Linked DNA regions of Homo sapiens: all the other regions are linked to region 2. Evidence: promoter capture Hi-C in 16 types of primary human blood cells and fetal thymus (Javierre and others, 2016). All regions are on one chromosome and are shown on one strand. The core of a region is centred on a gene start or on the middle of the fragment in contact, and the rest is flanking DNA. Distances in the headings are between cores, read along the strand shown. Region 1 has its middle 10 kb from the start of ACTRT3. Region 2 holds the start of ECT2 (epithelial cell transforming 2). Region 3 overlaps PHC3 (polyhomeotic homolog 3).

Evidence for each region. The method cuts DNA at HindIII sites, captures the fragments that hold promoters and counts their contacts. A CHiCAGO score of 5 or more calls a contact.
Region 1: a contact is called between a fragment that was not itself captured here and the fragment with the promoter of ECT2 in region 2, in 1 of 17 cell types (fetal thymus). The highest score is 5.1, in fetal thymus.
Region 3: a contact is called between a fragment that was not itself captured here and the fragment with the promoter of ECT2 in region 2, in 1 of 17 cell types (fetal thymus). The highest score is 7.8, in fetal thymus.

Annotation. Positions count from the first base shown.
Region 1 is chr3:169,757,361-169,761,407 of GRCh38, forward strand. No RefSeq gene overlaps it. Among named protein-coding and RNA genes, the nearest start is that of ACTRT3, 10 kb to the right of the region's middle. The HindIII fragment of the contact is 1,828 bases long and covers 1,375-3,202 here.
Region 2 is chr3:172,748,835-172,752,890 of GRCh38, forward strand. It overlaps ECT2 (epithelial cell transforming 2), which reads left to right and starts at 1,892. Exons shown (of 25, transcript NM_001258315.2): 1 at 1,892-2,023. RefSeq lists enhancers at 1,428-1,697, 1,798-1,847, 1,868-2,127 and a silencer at 2,238-2,307. The HindIII fragment of the contact is 5,304 bases long and covers 1,546-4,056 here.
Region 3 is chr3:170,169,552-170,173,733 of GRCh38, forward strand. PHC3 (polyhomeotic homolog 3) reads right to left here. Exons shown (of 15, transcript NM_024947.4): 3 at 3,006-3,161; 4 at 1,822-1,899. Among named protein-coding and RNA genes, the nearest start is that of PHC3, 10 kb to the right of the region's middle. The HindIII fragment of the contact is 1,241 bases long and covers 2,041-3,281 here.

The DNA of each region.
Region 1 (4,047 bases), core at 1,039-3,538, 3.0 Mb before region 2:
TGGCACGTGCCTGTAATCCCAGTTCCTTGGGAGGCTGAGGCAGGAGAATCACTTGAACCTGGGAGGTGGAGGTTGCAGTAAGCCAAAATCACACCATTGCACTCCAGCCTGGGCAACAGAACAAGACTCTCTCTCCAAAAAAAAAAAAAAAAAAAAAAAAAGATAGTGAACTAGATTAAGGTAGTAGAAATGAAGCCAAAGTGGGAGGATCACTTGAGGCCAAGAGTTCAAGACCAGCCTGGGCAATATAGCAAGCTCCTGACTCTCAAAAAAATTATTTTAAAAATTAGGCTGGCGGTGCACATCTGTAGTCCCTCTATTTCTCACCTTTTTTTATGATATTGTCACATTAATTTTGTAACTGAAAAAATTAGAAAGCATTATTAATTAGATTACTTAGCATTTGCCTCTGTGCTAACTCCTGGGCTCAAGTGACCCTCGCACCTCAGCCTCAGGGCTGCAGTGAGCTATGTCACACCACTGCACTCCAGCCTGGGAAACAGAGCAAGACCCAATCTCAAAAAAAAAAAAAATAGACCAGAGGACACGGCAGGGTGCGGGGAAAATGAGACATCAGCAGTGGTGCCCAGAAGACTGGTTTTAGCTCCTGGGTGTAGCAGTAGCATTTACGGGAAGGGGAAAGGGAAGAAAAAATAGATTTGGGGGATAAAATGATGAATTTAGTAAATTTAAATAACATGAGACTGCACCATATAATTTGCTTATAGAATCTCTCTCTCCAGGAAGACCTTTAAAGATGAGGAATATATGTTTCACCTTTGAAGTCTCAACACCCTGAACAATACAACATGTTGCAGACTAGGTATTTAGTGTTTGTTAAATGAACATCACAACTTTGCAAGTGGTTCATTCATTCCAGTATAATAAGATTCCAGTTATTGTGAAAAGCCATTTAAACTGTTTTCCTTACCAAGGAAAAGTTGATAGATGAGTAATTATTCTTTAACTTAAAAAGAGAATGAAAAAGTATGTGATTTTTTTAAAATTATTTTTTGTTTGTTTAGTTTTCTGTAAAGTAAAATAGCAGTTAAAAGCTAAAATGCGTGTATTTACATTCTTAGGCCTGCTACTGACCTTCTTCAAGTGATTTTACCTCCCAACGTTTCAGTTTCTCCATTTGCAGAAGGGAGATAATGGTGGTTGCCTTATCTCACAAGGATGTCATGAAAATAAGTCAGATAAATTGCTTTGCCCTCCTTGGAGAGGGGCTCTAGAAAGTAAGCATTATTAGATATGATGATGAATACCCACAACTTCAAAGATATTTTTAAATTGCCCCCCCTCCGCCCCCAAGTCTTTGAACATGTTAAGCCTATGAATAGCACTGGGGTAGGTGTTTATATATTTCTGGCAAGCTTTCACCTCTTGTTAAAGCAGTAAATGGTCTTTGAACAAACGTATTTCTCATTCTTTGATAACTATGCTTCCTTGTTTGTACACTTGAAAGATGATTATAATCTGGCATATGAGGTCAAGTTGAACTCCTTGGTGCCATTACAGTTCAAATGTAGCTTTAATTGAGTTTTTCTTCCAAGGTTGAAAATAAGTCACCCAGTTCACTTTAGCAAACTACTCGCATTTTTTAAAAAGATTGTGGGGAATGTAACTGTTTTTGCAACTGATATGTATAATGTTTTTCATTTTAGTTATAATATCCTCATTGATCATACAAAAAAGTCAGTATTTGTATTTCTTCATTATTGCATTTTTCTGTTTTCCTTAAATTGTTTTTAATAACTATAATTATGCCTTTTAACACTTATATAGACAGCCATAGTACACACATAAATATCACCAAAGTGAAAACCTAGAGCCCCAAGACAAAAAAAAAAAAAAAAATGATAGTCAAACATCATCTAGAGAAAGATTCTAGCTGCAGGTGTGCATCAAGTTCATAATTGGTGTTATTTTAAAAATTCACAAACCATTAGCACTTCCACCCTTCTCCATATATCTCTTAACTATATACCCAAGTCAAAACCACTTCCTGCCAGAGTAACTACAACATACCCATCAGAGCGCTGTAAAATCATTACTTGCAAAGTAAAGAGTAAGACAGACTTCTCCTCTCATTAATAATACCAGTTGCTGTCATATATATTACTCATATATTCTCCCCACAACCACCCTTCAAGGGAAGTCTTAGTACATCCGGTTGACACATGTGGAATGTAAAGTTGGGTGACTTATGCTAGATTCCCTCAGCTAGGTTAGAACAGGGTAAAAGTACAGGACCACAATAATATCCTTATTTCAATGTCTTCCTGTTTCCTTTTTATATCAAGGAAGAAATGAGAATTTGAGGCAACACAAATGAAGACCATATATACTTTGATACCTACCTAGGAGGGGAGATACAAACCAGAGTAAAGGAAAAATATGGGAAAAGTTGCCTCATTTCCACCTAGTGATGGTGGAACCCTTGGAACCCTCTTCACATCCCATAACGACTGACAGAATGGACACTGAAAAACAGGCCCACCCCTCAGGCAGAACCACTGGAAGAAATACCCTAACCCCTATACGTGAAGGATTAGCACTACTATTTTCAGAATATTATTAAAATTTAATTTTGAAACTTCTCTTTAGTGATATTCCCAGAAACCTATAACAGATACCACCAGTGTAAACTCCTCTCAAATACATTTATTTTGGGTAGGCCTCAAACTGGTAGGATGGTCCAAACCCTCACCCTTCTAGAGAAAGCACTCAGGAATGCTTAAATTTGCCTAGGCCAAAGGTCGCAAATTAATAGCCTATAATAGACCAGATTTTATCTCAAAACGTTTTTTTATTGGTGCATTGCAATGACTTCAGCTATCAACAACCTAAGCTAGGAGGTCCCCAGGCCATCCTTACATCTGACAAGCTGCCTACAAATTTAGGGGTTCCCACTACCCCTTCAAGTTTCATAATTCAGTAGAATGACTTAGAGAACTCAGGAAAGTGTTATTTCGGTTTTATTACAGTTTTATCATAGCAAAAGGATGTTTATTATAGTTATTATTATGGTTTTATTATAGCAAAAGGATTCAAATCAAAACCAGCCAAAGGGAGAGACACATAGAGTGAGGTCTGGGAGGGTCCCAGAAAGAAGGTTCCATTGTCCCTCTCCTCATGTCCTCAGGGACACATTTTCCTCCTAGCACACTGAGTACTGCCAACCACGGACGTTCATCCAAGCTTCAGTGTGTCCAGAGTTTTTATTGGGGCTTCATTACAGGCATGATTGGATGAATCACTAGTCATAAGGCTCAGACATGTGGCTCCAAGTCTCTCAAGAGGTCGGGCTAGTATCATGGGGCCCAAAGCCCCAACACTCTAATCACATGGCTGACCAACCCCCAGTCATGAGTCATCTCGTTAGTGTAAACTATTGGGTCTAGTCCAAGAGGCCTACCAAGAAAAGACACTCCCACCATTCTTGGTGAATTCCAAGGGTTTAGAGGCTACTTCCCAGGGTTCAGGAACAAAAGCCATCCAAATTCTTTACCATGCACTTATATAATATTTAAATTTTATTTCAATTTAGCTACCAACATTCTATAATCAGTGGTGTTGACATAAAAATCTGAATTTTTGTCTTCTCTTGCAATACTGACAATTTTAGGCTCAATTTCTGTAAGATTGCTGCCTCCTTAAAAAGGGAAGCTCATTCTCCCTACCATCTCTATAGTCTCCATTTTCTTATTCCCAGTGTGATTCACTTCTTTGTTTCCTTTCTGTCCACTGCAGACATTTAAATTTGCATATCCTGGGCTAATTCTTGGGTATTTTCGCTGTTTTTACTTCCATCACATATTATTACCTTAAAAGAATGAACATGAAGGAATGACAGTTACCTTTTGTCACTTCATTCTCATCTTATTTAAAACCACTCCTCCCTTACACTTTGTATGACGGTGGGTGCATGTGTACACACGCTTGTGCCTGTGCCATCTATTTGTCTCTTAAGTCTCGAGCCAGGCTAACATGGAATTTTTGACTGCAGAACCAGGACAAGCTGAATTAAAACTCAATGTCATC
Region 2 (4,056 bases), core at 642-3,141:
TCTTTGAGCCTGCAGACAGATCTATACTAGACTTTATTTACACTCATCTATTATTTCTGGGTTCTAATGCGGGCTAAAATATTTATTAGGAGACACTGGGTAAGTTACTTAAACCTTTCCTACAGTTTCATGGTATCATGGGACTATGATACCTACTTGTGGGTTGTTTTAAGGATTAAATAAGGTATAAAGTGCATAGTAAAGTATCAGTATGTTCATTCTCTTTCTTCTCTCCCTTATACTGTAATTATCTGTTTATCTGCTAATTTCCCTCACCAGATTGTGTGGTCCAGACAGGCAGTTTTCTATGCCTTATTCATCTTTATAACCCCAACAAGCACAATGGCTGTCTTAAAATTAGTAAATATTTGCTGAGTAAATGAAGACCTAAGAGAGTGAAAAAGGTTGTATTACCCGTTTATTTGTTAATCTAACTGCCACACATCCCTTAAAAGAAATCAAGTACAGCTTTTGTTAGGGAAGCTTAAAATTCATGGCAATGATACCATACACAGTTAATCATTAGCTTTGGAAAGTCTGTTGAGCAGAAAGCGGTGCACAAAGGAAGTAGGGCTGCTTCCCACAATAGCTTAATATGTTTTCAGTGATGAACGTTTTTGGAATGCTGGGCACACCCGACTTCCAAATACGCAAGCACATTCCAAATGGAAATTTCAATTACTGTTTTTCTTTTTTTCTGCCGTAACAGTTATCACAGCATTTTAATGAAGGTCAGACTTAAATACTGACAAGCAGGGAAACCAATAATTACCAGATTGCTTCATTCATTTTGTGGACAGCATTATAAACTTTTCAGGCATTCTAAGATTGCCTGACAAAATTAGAAAAAATTGTTAAGTCCCCACAACCTGCTTGAGATGCTCACAAGTGTTCCATCCCAAAGTACACGTTTGCCTCTTCTTATTGGTATTTAGGTTCTGGCATCTGATTCCCCTTTCTTCTTCTATTTATATTAGCCTTCAGGTGGGAACTATGGAAAACCCACCTGGTGGGGGTGTATTTTTCTTAAGAGATTGTGTTATATGGTATCATATTTAGAAAATAAAGAAATTATTTTCATAATAGCAACGCTAATCACAGGAAAAACTTGATACATTCTTGACTAGACTTTAGGGGAAAGTACAAGTTCTTAGTGGGCGGAGGGGGGCAAAGACGAAGCAATTTGGCTCCAAAAATTCTAGAATCTCGTGGCATATTTTTATCAAATTCAAGCTTATCTTTAAAAAAATCCGAGAATTTTTCTAATTTCTAAGAATTGATTCTAACCCGCGATACTCCCTAGATGGGAGCGCAGTGCTTTAAATAATAGCATTTAAATAAGCGGCTGCTGATTTGAAGTCCACCTGGGGAGTCCGAGTTCTAGGACCGGTCCTTGGCCCTGCCACACGCCAATACAACCATCAAAGTCAAAATCCCTTAACTCAAATTTAAATACATTCCTAAAGCAGAAAGCATCCCGATAGGAAAATCCTACAGCTCACAGCAAGCAGCAGGGAAACATTTATCTCTGGCGGCACTGATTTAAGCTTAAAAGATTTGGTATCGTTTAAAAAAAAAAAAAAGCTGGGTGGGGCCGAGGAGAATCCACCCAAACTTTCCTCAGGAAGTAGGATGTTTACTGAGTAAATATGCGGTAGTCACAGAAACACCTGCTACTCCTTTAAGACCTCAGGAGCCACCACCGCCACCTCCTGGCCACATCCGGGCACTTCTCTGCAAACTCCTGGCGTCCCGACGCCCGAGTCGTTGGGCTTATTTGAAACACACGCACAACCAATCAAGCGGCGCCTGCCGGGACTTGGAGAGCGTCGACCAATCACCGCCCCTCTGGAGACTCCTGCCTATGGGAAAGAGGTTGACATCACGCGCCAATCGGCATGGCTCTTAGAGAGAGCAGCTTAGTTTTTGAATCGGTTGTGGCGGCCGCCGGCGAGGAATGGCGGTATTTGTGAGAGGAGTCGGCGTTTGAAGAGGTGGAACTCCTAGGGCTTTTTTGAGAGTGGTAAGGACTCTGTGTGAGTGAGAGAGGTGCAAGTGGGCGAGCGGCTCCAGAGCCAAGGGCTCTTTTGCCTGCGGTCGACGTCCCCGCCCCTAGTGACCGCGAATTCCGGAGCGCCCCAGCTCAGGCTTCCCGGATCCGGGAACTCCCTCGCCGCACCCCACCCCCAGCAGCCGGGCCCTGACGCGGAGTGGGAGACCGAAGCCCCCAGTATTGCTGGGCATCTTCGCCCTCACCTGTTGGCTCTTTTGGACAGAAGAGTGTGGGTGAAGGGAGGGAGTTGGGAAAGGGATTTTGGCAAGCCGCGCAGCCCTGTGGCTTTGGGGGCCGGCACTTGCAGCCTTTGGGGGCTTATCTCAGAGTGCGCCGTGGTTTTATTCTAGGATTCATCCTGGCTTCTTTGCGGGAAGTTTAATTTTTCGTTTTTGCAAGATAAATCCAGGCCATCCGCCCCTCGTCCTCCCCAGCCACCCGGCACAGATGTGTCCGGCTTAGTGGTTAAAGGCGCAGCCTCTGGATTTAGCCGGGCTTTGAATACCTCTTTTACCCCTTACTAACAGTTTGACTTAGGGGAAGTTGCTTAACCTCTCTGTTCCTACGTTTCTTCATCCATACATTGAAAATAATAATAGTACCTGCCTCTTAGGATTACTGCAGAGATTAAAAGGTTTAGGACAATGTCTGCCACGTATTAAGCGTTAAGTAAATGTCAGTTGTTAATAGTAATGTTATTGTTAATAACACCACCATTATATCTTGGATTGCATTTTAGTCCTTCACCTTGGAAGATGATTGCCTAAAAAGTATTTAAGTAAAAGGAAACTTGAATGTTTGTTTACATGGCAAATTTTATCTCTGGGATAAAAGGGGGCATGTGTTATAGTGTGTTTAGTTAGAAGCTCCTTGGGTCTGTTCTTGGGTGAGAAGCTGTGTAGGTTTATGAACACTGATCCTATTGTGCTTATTTTAAAGGCTTCTGGAATACAGTAATTTGAAAAAAAGTGATTAATATATTTCCATTTCTAATCTGACTGTTGGATGTTAGTTATGTCATCAAGTTACCGTAGTGCATCTCTTTTTCTCTATACATTTTGAAGCTGTTTTGGCAATAAATTGATCATATACAGTATCATCAGGGGCAATTTTAATTATTAATCATCTGCTTTCGATCATCTGCTATGCTCCCTCCCTTTTATTAATCATCTGCTTTTGATCATTTGCTGTGCTCCCTCTTAAAGAGGGAGGCATAGGAGAAAAATGTAAATATTTTCAAGAAGTTTTTTTTTTTTTTTTAGACGGAGTCTACCTCTTGTTACCTAGACTGGAGTGCAGTGGCACGATCTCGGCTCACTGCAACCTCTGCCTCCCGGGTTCAAGCGATTCTCCTGCCTCAGCCTCCTGAGTAGCTGGGATTACAGGTGCCTGCCACCAAGCCCAGCTAATTTTTGTATTTTTAGTAGAGACGGGGTTTCATTGTGTTGGCCAGGCTGGTCTCGAACTCCTGACCTCGTGATCCGCCCGCCTTGGCCTCCCAAAGTGCTAGGATTACAAGTGTGAGCCACCGCGTCCGGCCTTTCAAATGGTATTTTTGATTTTCCTCTTCCAGTCCTTAAAGCAGGTTAGCTCATCTCCTGACTTTTTTTTTTTTTTAAACATTCTTTTAAGGGGACTTTGAATGAAAGCCACTTTAATGCCTTTTCATTGGAAATGGTTGAGTGTAGAAGACTTAAAATAATAGGGCTGGATAGAATTTATCATTGATTCTAAATTAAGGCTGTTACAACTATTGGACCGCTCCTTTGGAGAGCCTTAGAATAATGATTGACATGGATGTATGGTAAAGCCATAAGAAATATCCATATTGTGAATATTACATGAGAATAGTTGTTTGTTGTTCACTTTAAGACATCTATTCAGTTTTCATCTTAACTAGATTTGAGTTGTAGTACTATGTGTGTTCCACCAATGTGGAAACTGAGGTTTAACTGACTATGTGCAGGGCTGAGACAGGAAGCTGAGTTGCCTGATTTTGAAGT
Region 3 (4,182 bases), core at 1,411-3,910, 2.6 Mb before region 2:
TTCCTACTTACTTATCTTCCCCCACCAGCCATTTACAGCTTTTGGCATACTTCATGGTATAATGCTGCTGGTTTATGACAAGTAACATTAACAATGTCATATATATAAGCACAATCACTAGAATTCTAACTTCTGTGAATGTCACATACATAAAGCCATAATGAAAGACAGTTTAAAAAGATACCTTTTAATAACATGAAGGAAAAAAATTCAAAATAACATATCTATACAAATACATCCTATTGTTATTCCAGTATTTCACAGAATAAAGAATTTGTCTATATAATTTCCTTCAGTAGCCCACAAAATATTTACCACTCCTTTCCTTAATTACCATTGTATTAAAGACATCTGATGTCAATGACAAAAACTCCAGTATTAATGCTTAAGAGCTAGGTTACATTATTTAAGTTTTTCATTTAATCTAACATCTTCAAGTCATAGGGAACTTTTTAAACTAATCTTGTTCACACTCCAGGACATTCCCACGCCAAAAAAAAAAAGTCAGATCAACAGCCAGAAAAAAAAACCAAACAACAAAAAAAACCACAGCTATATGCTGACCACAGCATGTAGTTAGCAAAGACCATACCCTTAGCTGAAGAAATAGAGCACAATTCCTTAACCTTCAATTCCTTAACAACCTACAAACTATATTGTATTGGAGCCAATTTTATGAAGTATCAAAGTATTACCATTCTGGACCAGGAAAAAATATCTAGAAAGGACATTATTAGGTTCTCAACTACAGGCAGTTTGCCCCCCACCAGGAAACACCTATAGTTGTCACACTAGAGGAAGGAGAAAGACCACAAGCTGCCGGCATCTAGTAGCCAGGGATGCTGCTAAACATCCTATAAATTACACGATAGCCCCTGACAACAAAGAATTATCTGGCTCATAATGTCCATAGTGATGAGGTTGGGAAACCTGAGACAAATGATGAAATGTGAAAATGAACTGCACTGTATCAATGTTATATTTCCTGAATTTAGTAATTTTTCTGTGGCTTCAAAAAACAATAGCCTTGTTCTTAGGAAATACACATCAAAGTATTTAGGAATAAAGGAACATATCTCAACTTACAAATGACTCAGAAAAAAATATGTATACATGTAGTGGAAAAGAATGAATGATAAAGTAATGGGGCAATATGCAATAATTGATTAATCTGAGTAGAGTAGATACAGAAATTTTTTTATTATTATTGCAGTTTAAAATTATACCAAAATTAAAAGCTAAACAAGTATTACCATGCCCATAAATTTATTTTACCTGGGAAACTTGGCACAATTTCCCAATATATATGTGCAATATAGCGAATCAGCTTTCTTTTACTCCTTTCTCAAAATAAATTACCCTATCTTGAATGGATACTTGCAAATTGAACCCAAATAACTCATGTAAGCTGAAAGTATAATTTCTAAAATGTGAATTGCACAAAGTTAGAAATGCTTAGATGTCTACCAAGGACATGACATACTATTGTATATCACAGTAAATTCATGGCCAATATCCCTGCATTGTATATTTTAGGCTTTCAATACACACAGAAAGCTGAAACCACATAAGATCTGAACATGATCAGTGCAAATGGATATACAAGAAATAATACAAAAAGATTTTTTTAAGACTCAGATTTTCATAAGTTTAACATTAGTTCTGAATTCTTGAATTTTATCATTTCTATTTCTGGGCAATTGTTACTTTAAACAGCATGCAACAAATTATAATAACAGCTTCATAAATAACAACAGTTTACTTTTGGAAAACAATTCTTTAAAATTTTAAATCCAGGAAAAAAAAATTTAGGGAACTTACAGACGTTTGGGACATACTTGACTGCTGTGTGACACTTCCTGTGGGAGATGTAGATGGTCTTCCACTGGACAAACTTGCCTAAAATAGTAAGACTTTTAGAATATGTCGGTAAAAACCTGAAGTTAAGAACTTTCTGGTACCATGATAACACAAAACCACAACAATAAATGTCAAAAGGCCTATGTATGAAACAACTAATTTTATAGTCAACATGGCTTAAGCTTCGGTTAAACAGATTTTTTAAATAAGGAAAAGCTGAATGGTGAAAACAGGGGATCCAAAGACTAATCTTATTTTATTAGCTACTTTATTGTCAGTTTCACTTTATGGGTCTCTGTCATCTTTAAAGTGGAATCACTACTCCAGAGTTATGAAAAAGAAATTAGAGCTACAGCAAGAGCCAGTGAGTGGGTTTCAGTTTCCTAACTTGTATCACAAACATGTTATTTAAAAATTACACTACTAAGAAGCAACAGCTGAGAATCTGTTGGTAACAGAAATAAACCTTTTTCAGGTTCAGTCAATTGAGATCCTCCTCTGGTGAGGGGATTTAAGATTAAATCTTACACAGCTTTATTTAAATAGTACAATAGTAACAAAAATCTTTTTTAAAAACAAGCATTTAATAATGAAATCCTGTTATCAGTAGGAATAATATGATTGGATTTTAGAAAAATGGATATACCTATCTTTGTATAAAAAATTTCTGGAGAAATATGTATTAGATTGTTACTGTGGCCACCTTTGAAGAACGGGAAACAGTGATAGACAGGGAAAAGGAACAGCTTTACTTTATCTCTTATAAACAACTTAATATTGTTTGATTTTTTAATGAGTATAATTACTTATATAATTTTTTTAATCTTATTTTTAGTAAAAATACAATTTATGTAAGCCTAAGTACTCACTGTTGTACCTAGAACTTTATACACATAAACTAGCATAGCATTTCTTCAATCTGGATAAAAAGCACTGAGACAAAAGCTAGAAACAGAGTAACATAAAAAAACATATCCCCTTTTTCTCAATTAACTTCTATTCGGCAACCTATTAATATATTTCCTCCGGGAAAAATAACCACAGGACATCTGAGAACTCTGAAATAATACCCAATCTATTTATTTTCAGTAACTACCTACAGATAACAGAAACTTTGATCTCATAAACTCTTATTTTAGTCTTACCTGAACAGCAGCAAGGCTCTGAAGCTGGGAGCTGCTTAAATGCTGCTGCTGAAGAGCTGCAGTATGCAGCATCAAGTGCTGTTGTTGGGCTGCATACATTTGCTGAAGGTACTGAGCAGCTGAGCTGGGGGGCCGATGCAATGCCTGTTGAATTACCTGTGATAAGTCAATTGAACCAATGTCAAACCATAATCTCAACCTTTATCTTAATCAGAAAATCAAAGTATAAAAAAGTGGCAGTTTAAAATTTCACTGCTTTAATACATAATATCATCAAGCTTATTAACATTATTTCTTTCCTAGTTACATATCACTAGAAATCACTAACTTGTACACATTAAAACTACCCAGTGGGCCGGGCACGGTGGCTCACGCCTGTTAATTCCAGCACTTTGGGAGGCCGAGGTGGGCGGATCACAAGGTCAGGAGATCAAGACCATCCTGGCTAACATGGTGAAACCCCGTCTCTACTAAAAACACAAAAAATTAGCCAGGCATGGTGGCACATGCCTGTAGCCCCAGCTACTCGGGAGGCTGAGGCAGGAGAATCGCTTGAACCTGTGAGGTGAAGGCTGCAGTTGAGCCAAGATCATGCCACTGCACTCCAGCCTGGGCGACACAGCAAGACTCCCATCTCAAAAAAAAAAAAACAAAACAAAACCCAGTGGACAATTCGCAAAAGACAGGCCAGGCCAACTAAGCATTTCAAAAGATTTTCAATCTCACCAGTAGTCAAAAACTTACAAATTAAAACAAGATACTGTTTTCCAACTTTCAGATGGATAAAGATTTAAAAGAATACTACTACTACCTGGGGAAACCAATACTCCCATATTGCTAGTAAAAATTCAAGTTGGCATAACCTTTTTGGATAAAACTTCGTAGAATTCAGGGCTTGGGTGTGGAGAGAAATACCTTTACCATGCAACCATAACAAATAGTAATGTAGATCAGTGCTGTCCTATACAGTAACAACTAGTCACATGTGCCTACTGAGCACTTAAAATGTGGTTAGTGCAACTAAAGAATTGAGTTAATTTTAAATTGAATTTTAATTAATTTTAATTTTAATGTAAACAGCCACAAGTAACTACTGGCCACTATAGTGTACATTGCTGATACCGATCTATATTTACTAACAAAAAGAAAATCAGTGGGTTACAAAATAGTATATAGA